2 separate regions of the Homo sapiens genome follow, and region 1 is linked to region 2. The links are contacts of gene promoters, found by promoter capture Hi-C in human tissues and cell types (Jung and others, 2019). All regions are on one chromosome and are shown on one strand. The core of a region is centred on a gene start or on the middle of the fragment in contact, and the rest is flanking DNA. Distances in the headings are between cores, read along the strand shown. Region 1 has its middle 36 kb from the start of CCDC74A. Region 2 holds the start of IMP4 (IMP U3 small nucleolar ribonucleoprotein 4).

The links. The method cuts DNA at HindIII sites, captures the fragments that hold promoters and counts their contacts. A contact is called where the count stands out against the background at its distance.
Region 1: a contact is called between a fragment that was not itself captured here and the fragment with the promoter of IMP4 in region 2, in 1 of the 25 tissues and cell types used here (lymphoblastoid cells).

Annotation. Positions count from the first base shown.
Region 1 is chr2:131,560,939-131,566,298 of GRCh38, forward strand. No RefSeq gene overlaps it. Among named protein-coding and RNA genes, the nearest start is that of CCDC74A, 36 kb to the left of the region's middle. RefSeq lists a silencer at 4,108-4,287. The HindIII fragment of the contact is 8,227 bases long and covers 1-5,360 here.
Region 2 is chr2:130,340,120-130,345,224 of GRCh38, forward strand. It overlaps IMP4 (IMP U3 small nucleolar ribonucleoprotein 4), which reads left to right and starts at 2,778. Exons shown (of 9, transcript NM_033416.3): 1 at 2,778-2,816; 2 at 2,967-3,075; 3 at 4,510-4,593. The coding sequence starts at 2,814. VMA22 (vacuolar ATPase assembly factor VMA22) reads right to left here and starts at 2,045. Exons shown (of 5, transcript NM_032357.4): 1 at 1,896-2,045; 2 at 1,722-1,825; 3 at 1,548-1,630; 4 at 789-920. The coding sequence starts at 2,006. RefSeq lists enhancers at 1,961-2,510, 2,641-2,810. The HindIII fragment of the contact is 9,368 bases long and covers 1,256-5,105 here.

The DNA.
Region 1 (5,360 bases), core at 1,413-3,912, 1.2 Mb after region 2:
TTTAAAATCCTTGCAACATTGAGTTACAGGGCTTTTAACTCCTAGGTCTAAAAAGGACACTAAGTCCTGCTAATCTTAAACACCCACAGCAATTAAAGGCTCATCTTCAGGCCCCATAGAAGATGCCAATTCAAATAAACTGCTGCATTCCTGAGACACAGGGCAAGAAATGATGAAAGCTATTCAACTCCTCAAGACCCAGGGACTATTGTGAAAGAGGTGGGAGCATAAGATTGTAAGGGCCGATTTTGAAAAATAAAGTAGGTTCAGTTTCTCTATGCATTACTTATTAATGTCAAAGGCACACTGATGCAAAACCAGTATATGGACGCTTGTGTCAGATTAACAAGGTTTTCTTGAAGCATTAACCAACTGCTTAGTACAGGTTATAAAAGGCTGATGGAATTATATTTTGTAATCAAGATTACATTTTATAGATTGTTTACAAAATTTTTTTTTTAAGTTTTTTTTATTATACTTTAAGTTTTAGGGTACATGTGCACATTGTGCAGGTTAGTTACATATGTATACATGTGCCATGCTGGTGTGCTGCACCCACTAACTCGTCATCTAGCATTAGGTATATCTCCCAATGCTATCCCTCCCCCCTCCCCCCACCCCACCACAGTCCCCAGAGTGTGATATTCCCCTTCCTGTGTCCATGTGATCTCATTGTACAATTCCCACCTATGAGTGAGAATATGCGGTGTTTGGTTTTTTGTTCTTGTGATAGTTTACTGAGAATGATGATTTCCAATTTCATCCATGTCCCTACAAAGGACATGAACTCATCATTTTTTATGGCTGCATGGTATTCCATGGTGTATATGTGCCACATTTTCTTAATCCAGTCTATCATTGTTGGACATTTGGGTTGGTTCCAAGTCTTTGCTATTGTGAATAATGCCGCAAACAAATGTAATTGGCTTCATGCTGTTTTTAAAAAATTCTTAAATTATCACTTTGGTTAAATAAATGACTTTACAATGACCTGTAATCCTATTTTTAACATCAAGTGTTTTAAACATTTTATATTTGACAAACTTCCCAAAATCAAATTATATATTATGTCTTTTTCTATCCTAAGTAATCCTTTAAGACATTAGGTTCTCTAAAGTCTAAAAATGACATAATTTGGCTTACCTGCTATAAAATGTTTGGAAACATTGTCAAATATGAAATGGTGTTTGGCTTTCTTTCAGATCCATTTGTATATGTTTTTGGTATGTTTCCAAAATGATGGGAAACTCCTGTAATTCTGATATAACTTAGTGTACATTATTTGTAATAATCATAATTGTTATGTTAAAATCATTGTGTGCCACGGAGGTAACAAATTCACTTGTCAATTGTGTCTTTTAACTATGGCTGCCTTAAATTTTTTTTCATCCACAGGTAATTGTCTTGTTTTGTCTCGTTTTAAACCCTCTTTATAAGGTGGGTTTATAATCAGCTATAGGACTCTAACAGGTGCACTTAAGTTCAGGTTTTCTGATAATTTTGGAAATTGTTACACTGGAATAAAGCAAAAAATTTCAAAATTCTCATGGAGAGCTGAAATGTTCATGACTATCAAACAGAACAGGAGTTAACTGAGATAACTGAACCAATAGAAAACTGAAGTTATCTTTTTGACTTTTTGCTTAAAACATTGCTAATACTTTTAGTTTTTCAGAGTTAAGGAAACTTTTATTTACAGCTTTTAACAATAAATTATTGTATATTCCTGTGAACAAAATTTGGAGCATATTTGTTTTTCTCTACCTAATTTCTCCAGAATTTGGAAACTATGAGTATTCTTAATTTATGGCAGTATAGTTACTTGCATAAGTGCAAGAAGAATCTGTTTTATTTTGGAATAGGACACAGTTGGAGAATTTGGTTATTTTATCAAGGGTTTGACTGAAATGGTGTGCTTTCCTTTAAGGAATCAAAACTGACTTATCAAGCCAATAAAGCCCTTGGAAAAACTGGCCTCATATTTTGTGTACACAGTCCCTGTACAGGATTTTGACCTGTGGTAAATAAAGAATGTCATTTTCTGAGAGGTGCAGAAGCCCCAGGTTTATCTTGGAACCTCAAGAGGAGAGGAAATTCACTGAAATCATAGGTATTTGATGGCACAAATCCATGGCTGGGCTTGGCTTTGAAAAAGTCTTATCTAAGATTCCTGCTATGGAATAAAGTTCCATCAAAGCCAATTTAAAAGCCTATGTAAAAAATAATGATTGTTGCACTGTATGCAGATAATTAGGCCAAGTATAATAAAGCAAATCAGTTCTAACATGATTCATCTTTAGTAGAAATTTGAAAACTGGAGAGAGACAAAAATTATTTTTCAAAACTACAGTAGACTTGTTTTTAGATTCTAGTCTTGCCTAATGTTTTTTCAATTTTTATTATTTTCTACAGTTTGGACCGAATTCTAATTTTTCTTGCCTACGAGTCTTTAAAATAATGTTTTCAATTTTTTTTCAATTATTCCTAAACGAAGCGGTGCTTTCTTAAAACCCTGCAAACTGAAGCCAGACCACTTAAACTTCAGAAGAAAATAACAGCAACCTATTTACATACATAAGCCACTTTCATACCTGCCTACTGAGGTATGGACTGCAGAGTAACGTGGCTTATATTGATTTTTCCAGGATTGTTCTTTTGTTTGTTGTTGTTTTTTCTGCCTTCCTCCCCGCTATTTTAACTTCACAGGATGTGAGACTTCACAACCTGCTAAGAATGAGCATTTAGGACCTACCTATCTAGGAATAAACCCTCCTAGCCATGAGAGATCAGATGAAACCCGAGACCAGAGATTCATTTTCTTGTAAAATGTTTTTTCCAAAAGATTTTTTAAAAAGAAAAGGAGAGAGATGTGAAAGGAAAATATCTGGGGCCCCTAAAATCACTAAGGAAAACTCAGGCTGGAAACTGCTTAGGGCCAACCTGCCTCCCATTCTATTTAAAGTCGCCCCTCTGCTCCCTGAGATAGAAGCATATCTGATTGCCTCCTTTGGAGACTAATCAGAAACTCAAAAGAATGTAACCATGTGTGTATCACTCATCTGTGACCTGGAAGCTCCCTCCCTGCTTCCAGTCTTCCTGCGTTTGCTTCAAGTTGTCACATCTTTCTAGACCAAAGCAACGTACTTCTTACATATATTGATTGTTGTCTCATGTCTCCCTAAAATGTATAAAACCAAGCTGTGCCCTGACCACCTTGGGCTCATGTCATCATGTCCCTGAGGCTGTGTCACGAGTGTGTTCCCAACCTTGGCAAAATAAACTTTCTAAATTAACTGAGACCTTCATTTGAGTTTGCTGCTGGACACCCTCATTGTGTTTATTGGCCTGTTTCTCTGTTAATGCCTATCACGAATGGCTTGGGTAACTAAAGCTTTGGGAAGTAATGTAAAGTGGAAGAGTGTGATGGCTCCACCGACTTTGTATGTGTAGGAACTGCTTTGGGAATGCGGGGCATTTGATTGTCCCACGGGATTTTTAGTATTGTGTTGTGATCCTATATGGAAAACAAAAATAGGACATGGTCTGTGTTTTTATTTAAAGGGTGCAACGGACCTTTTTACATGAATCAATGAAACTGCAGGACCTAGCGTCTGTTTCATGCTACAGTGAGGATTTCTTGATGGAGAGAGCATTCCAAATCCTTTCCAGCAATATTGAATATTATGTTATGATACTGTTAAGCCTAGTCACCCTGCTGTGCCGTACAACACCAGAGTAACTGCGTCTCATCTGAACATCCCTTTGCAGCCATTTCCAATCCTCCCCCCAGCCTCTGGTACCCACTGTTGACATTGCTACTCTATGAGATTCACTTTGTTAGATTCCACGTGCATGAGATTTTGCAGTATTTGTGTTTGTCTTCCTCTGCCTGGTTCATGTTTTTTAACTTAATGTCTTCCAGGTTTTTCCATCTTGCTGGTAGTGAACTGATGTCCGGAAGTTTGATGGCTGAAGAGTATACCGTTGTGCATATATCCTTCAATTCCTGCATTTTTTAATCTGTAGAAAGACAAGTAGGTTGATTCCCCATCTTAGTTATTGTCCAGAGTACTTCATGAAACATGAGAGGGAGATACCTCCTTAAGGTAGGTTTGGTTGGCTTTGCAGGTATACCCAGTGTTGGGATGGCTAGAGGAACTGGTGGTTGTGTTAATTGTTTCAGAAACCTCCAGCTGTCTCCCAGCAGGTATACGAATTTGCATTCAAACCAGTAGTGTGTAATAGTTCCTCTGTCTGCAAATCTACACTGCCCTTATCTTCCAAAGTTTTATTGCTGTTTCTGGTCATACTCGTTCTCTGGGAAGAAACTCTTCTGATGTGGACAAACTTTTCTATTACCTGAGAGTCTGTTTCAGGTTTTTTCAGAAATGGCTATGCCAGTCCTTTGGGCATTTTTAGCATGTGTTTTGGTTTTTGTATTTTTGTCCACTTAGGACCATTAGTTTCTTGAGTATGTTAGATAAGAAGCCCTTCCAGATTGACAGTTTTTCATAATTTTCTTCTAGTCTGCAAGATGCCTTTTATTTGGGTTCAGTATTTTCTGTCCTGTGTTGAAGCTGCGTGAAGCTCTGAAGTTGTCCTTAGTCTCACATGGTCACATTAGCTTTTGTTAGTGGTGATTTCTGTGTCCCTTTGAGAAGAAAAGTGAGATGGCGAAGCCATTGTATGGTCTATGGGTATTTGGTTCCTATGTCTTCCTTTTCTGTTTGTGGCTTAGGTTCACAGGTTCAAGTTTACCCACAGTAGACACACACCCTACGTGTTTTCCTTGGAGATTTTGGTTTCAGGATTGAACTTAGGTGTTCAGTAGATTTTGTGTCGCTTTTTGTGTCTTGGGTAAAGGAAAGGTTCGGTCCTTTGCACGTGACCCCTCAGTTTCCTCAACCATTGTGCCTTTGGTGTGCTTTTGGAGGAACAACAAGAATCCCATGGGTTCAGTGTTTATAATTGTGGGTTGATTATTTGGCTCCTTCGTTGTGTCCATTCGGTTGTCTTTCTGTGTTCATGCCACTAATGGATGGATTGGGTCACTGTAGGCTTTTTGTTTTGTTTTGTGTGTTTTCTTCCTTTTTTCTATTTTTATTTCCAAAGCTGGGTTTTCTAAAATGATAGCTACTTTTATTGTGATCGAGGGGTACGCCTGCAGGTTCATTTCACTACATGGCTATACAGTAGAATTTTGATGCTTGGGGTCCTAACGTACCTGTCACCCAGGCGGTGAACACAGCACCAGTTGGGTCTTTCTTCCTCCAAGGCTCCCTGTCTCCCTTTTTTTTCTGTCTGGAAGTACCCAGCGTCTCTTGATTTCATCTTTATGTTGATGTGTATTGGGTGTTGCG
Region 2 (5,105 bases), core at 1,528-4,027:
CCGCAGGCTCTCCTGGACTCCTTTCCTTCCCTTACTCCCATATCTTATCTGTCAGCAAATTCTGGGGCTTCTATTCTTAAAACCTGTGCAGGTTCCCACCACTTACCTCCTCCTCCAGTGACGCTATCTGCTTCTCACACTGGCTGCTCCCTGACACCTACTTCCTCCCTCTGCTCTGTGTCCCCGCCCAGCACCCAAGCATTCCTGTGACCCTGTACAGCCAGTTGCACCATCCTCTGCTCAGAGCCTCTCTGTGGGTCCCACAGTCTTCATCAGGGCTTACATCACCTGACTCCACTCTAGGCCACCGGCCTCGGCACATACCAGATATATCTGGCTTCAGGGCTTTTGTCCTGGCTGGTTCCTCCATCTAGAGCACTGTTCCCCAAAATCACCCACAAAGCTTTTCCTTCACCTCCTCAGAGAGACCTCCCCTGGCCCACTCCTGTCCCACTCCATTATGTGTTTTTCATAACAATTTTCACAGCCTGACTTATGTTAAGGGCCTACTTATTTGCACGTTGCCTTTGTCTGCTTCTAAACATTACATGAAAAGTGTTTGTCTCTTTTGTTCCCTGCTGTATCCCCAGCAGCTAGCATGAACCCGAATGCTGCCAACAACCAGTAAATGCTTTTGGAAAAAATAATGGGTGTACAACGGAAGTTTGGATGGAGGAAAACCTGCAAAGCCTTTCACAGACTAACCCCAGCCATGGCAGCAGTGCTCAAGTGTTCCCTGTGGATAGAGGGTCTGAGGGCCACAGAGCCAAACAACACGGTCCACTCACCATCCCGGAAGCTTGCTTGAGCCTGACGTAGACTGTGAGGAACTAGGATTCCAAACCAGTTCAGGGGGTCCTGAGGGGCCTCAGAGGACTCCGGTTCTGGGGTCTTAGTGGGGCCCTTGCGCCTCCGCAGACCTGAGGAAAGAAAGGTTGGAGGAGGCTGGGATCTTACTCCCTGACCTTTATCATCTTGGTGACAATGTTGAGCTTGATCTGAGCTCATGATTCTATAAAACACTGTTGGTTGGAAAATTCCAACTTTGGGGTTCCAGGAAACAGCTTACCACAAAACACAGCCTTTCCCCTTGTGATTCAGATGAGACTGTTTGTCCACTCTTTCCCGTGACTCCTGTAAGACCCACTGATGACCCTGTTTGCCTGTGACACTGATCTTACCCATTGTACCTGAACATGCCAACAGACCAGACATAGACGTTCCAACTCCCCATTCTTTGTCTCAGGATGATTAACTGGGATTAGAAGTTTGTCCCTCTGAAACTAGCTAGACACACAGATAAATATTTTCTGTTCAGCTGACTGAAATGTATGTGATTGTAAATCTATTCCCAGTGTAAAGCAACTCACCAACAATTTCTCTACTTCCTATAAAAGTCTAAGGCAAAACCACCCTACAAAAACATTCTGTTCTTCTGCTCTGGGATGCTCTCTCTTATCGCAAAAACCTAATTTAAATCATCTCCATAATTTGCATTTTGTCTTTGACACTGGGAAGGGGTTCTGCAGAAGGAAGAGGGGGCTCACCTGCTTCGCGAGGCCCCACCTCCTCTGGGGCGTGGACACCAGCTCTCACCACCTTGAACTTCTGGAGTCCCTCCTGGGCCTCGCTGAAGGACGAGAAGGGAGGATGGAGCTTTGGCAGCCCGGGCCTAGAACGCGCCCGCCCGCCCACCCAGCCCAGCATGGAAGCTTCCTCACCTGGCGTGGAGGCAGACCTGGGGCTCCATGTGGGAAGCATACTGCAGGGGCCCTACCGACTTGGCGCCCATCGCGTAGCGAGCCTTGGCGAGCGAGAGCCAGCCCTGCAGGGAGAGGAAAGCGGTGAGACTCAGTTTACGCCCGTGTACCCTCCTGCCCGCCCCAGGCGCCTACCTCCTCCACCCGGGCGTTCAACACCGTTCGTTTCCCCTCCAGCTCCTCCAGGTCCCCAAGCAGCTGCAGGACCAGCGAATCCAGCTCCGCTCGCAGGTCAAGCGCCGCCATGGACACACCTCCAGATCTGGAGCCACCTTCTTCCTTGTCACCCTCCGCAGTTTGGCAGGACAGCCAATAGGCACACGAGATCCTCCATCAAGGGGCGTTCCCATCTGGGGATCCCCACGCCGGCAGCACCAAGGCCTCTGGGTCAGCTTCTTTAAGGGCAAGCGCCCTTAGAGAAGCAGCACGGAAGCAACCAATCAACTGGTTTCTCCAATTAGCCCCCAAGTGGATCAGCCTGCTGAACTGTCGGCTAGGGTTATAGGTGGTTCTGAGTCCTTCCGGAAGCTGCCGAATCTTAGAAGTCGCGCCACTGTTGTGGCGATGGAAGAAGGCGAAGCTCTACAGAAACCATTTTGGTTGAGGGAAGAGTGGTTTTAAAGTTAATTTGGAAAGGAGCCGGCAAGCAACCTTCAGTCGGTGTGCGGTTTTTACAGTTGAACTGTTTCCAGCCGCTAATTATGATTGTTTTAGCGGTTCGTCATCTGAAAACTGCATTCTGCACGGCGGTGGTGGGGGGAGGACGAGGATGGAGAAGCCTGGGCGGACATATTTATTAGCTGCGGTCCTAAGTCACGTGTGACATTCTGTATCCAGTCTATCGGTTATCCCAAGGAGAACGCCCTGCCGGAATGGCCAATCGCCTTGAGATGTCCCCGCCCTATTCGCCATCTTAACATAGGGCATTCCCCACAGCTGCAGGCACCAGTGAAGCGTCTAAGGGACCATCTTGGTTGAGGGCGGAAGTGAGGACTGTGTCGCGCTGGAGGAGCCCACAGATTCTCCCGGACCCACGTGGAAGCGGCACTCAAGATGGTAGGAGAATGAGCTCCTGTTTCGGAGGTCCGGGGCGCGTGAAGTGCTGGGGATGTGGCTCTGGGGACTTGGAGGCTCAGCGGCTCCGGGGCTCCGGGGTTCCGGGGCTCGGGAGCGAGTAGTGAGTGACTGGGCCTGCTGTTCCCACAGCTGCGCCGCGAGGCCCGCCTGCGCCGCGAGTACCTGTACCGCAAGGCCCGGGAGGAGGCGCAGCGCTCAGCCCAGGAGAGGAAGGAGCGGCTGCGGCGCGCGCTGGAAGGTAAGGCATCGGCCCCGCGGGCGTCTGCGTGGTAAACCACCCCGGCACGCATTTGTGTTCGAATATCCGAGCGTCTTTCCAAATGCTTGCCGGCCGTTTTCCTTGCCCATTGGGTTCTCCTGTTGGTTTTGAGAGTGTTTCTTCCGTGTGATGGTATTAATTACTTGTCACTGACGTTGCAGTACCCGGGTTTTGCAGCTTGCCCGCTGTGTGCAGTGTGTCAAGTTCGTCCCAAGTTTTAAAGACTTTATCTTGTCCTGTAGAAATTCTCTTTAGAGCGGTGGCTCACTGCTGTAATCCCAGCACTTTGGGAGGCCGAGGCGGGCGGATCATGAGGTCAGGAGTTCGAGCCTGACCAACATGGTGAAATCTCGTCTCTACTAAACATACAAAAATTAGCCGGCCGTGGTGGCACGCGCCTGTAATCCCAGCTACTCAGGAGGCTGAGGCAGGAGAATCGCTTGAACCCGGGAGGCGGAGGTTGCAGTGAGCCGAGATCCTGCCACTGCACTCCAGCCTGGGCAAAAAAGCAAGACTCCGTCTCAAAAAAAAAAAAAAAAAGAAATTCTCTCTAAAGACTATCTGGATAGCGCTGGTGCTGCAGACTGCGCTGCCCATCCTCCCTGCAGGAGTTCCTCTGAGCTCCGTGGGGAACAGTGCTGGCCCCGAGTGCGCACCTGGAGCGCTGTGCTCTGCGGTAGGCAGCCTGTGGTCCAGGGCCCGCTGAAGCCATGCCTTCGAAGCGCTGTGGGCATCGTGACCAACGGTTTTGCTGTCTGAGAGCTTAAAGGTCTCTGGTCCACCATCATACGTACAGAACAGTCTATATTTCTTTTCAAAAGTAATTTTTAAGGCCGAGCGCTGTGGCTCACGCCTGTAATCCCAGCACTTTGGGAGGCCGAAGCGGGTGGATCACGAGGTCAGGAGATCGAGACCATCCTGGCTAACACGGTGAAACCCCGTCTCTACTAAAAATATAAAAAATTAGCCGGGCGCCGTGGCGGGCTCCTGTAGTCCCAGCTACTCGCCAGCCTGAGGCAGGAGAATGGCGTGAACCCAGGAAGCGGAGCTTGCAGTGAGCCGAGATGGCACCACTGCACTGCTCTGCCTGGGTGACAGAGCGAGACTCCGTCTCAAAAAAAAAAAAAATCGATGTTTAGATTTCTACCTGATTATAAAAGCAATACAGTACATTAAGATATTTTAGAAAGTCCTCAAGTCATGAGACTAAAGAAAATGAAGTCCTAGTAACCACTGTTTATGGGGGTTGGCCTGTAGAAAGTTTTGTCACCTCTATCCATGCTTTATCCAAGCTCAGAAAGGGCTGAGGTATTTTTATTTCAAGCATGTGCAGGCTAATAAGCTGTGGTGTATTGGATGAGCTGAGGTCTCCATGCTTGTGACTCACTCAGCCCCTCTCTCTTCCCTCTGCAGAAAACCGCCTGATTCCCACTGAGTTACGCCGAGAGGCTCTGGCCTTACAGGGGTCCCTGGAGTTTGATGATGCTGGAGGTGAAGGTAACTATACAAGGTAGCCCTCCCCAACACTGAGCTGGCAGGTCTCCAGTCCTTCCTCAGACACACCGGGCACCATCCCATCAGAGGAAACTGCTCCTGGAACTGTCCCCCATGCCCTTGTCACTGCACAGATGGCATTGCAGGGCTCTCCCTGAGTGTGCCCTGTCCCACTTACATGGCACACATGGGAGTGCCTCACTGACTCTGCACCTGGCTTGTTAATTACCTCCCCCACTGGAGTGCCTGCTGGGGAAAGACAGTGTCCCTCACACATTATTGGTGCCCATACGTTTATTCACTGCATTATTCAAGAAACAAGAAAGGAATCCCAAACATTATAGATATTTGTTACGAGGGAAAAGAGTTTGTCACCGTTGGCCTTAGCAGAGTGTGGATTTCGTTGTGTAATGGAGTAGCTGCTTAGCCCCATGTGACTAATATAGCTTAAGCAAACTACAATTAAACAAAAGATTCTGTTTCTCAGCCACGCTTGTGCTCAGCAGCCAGAGTAG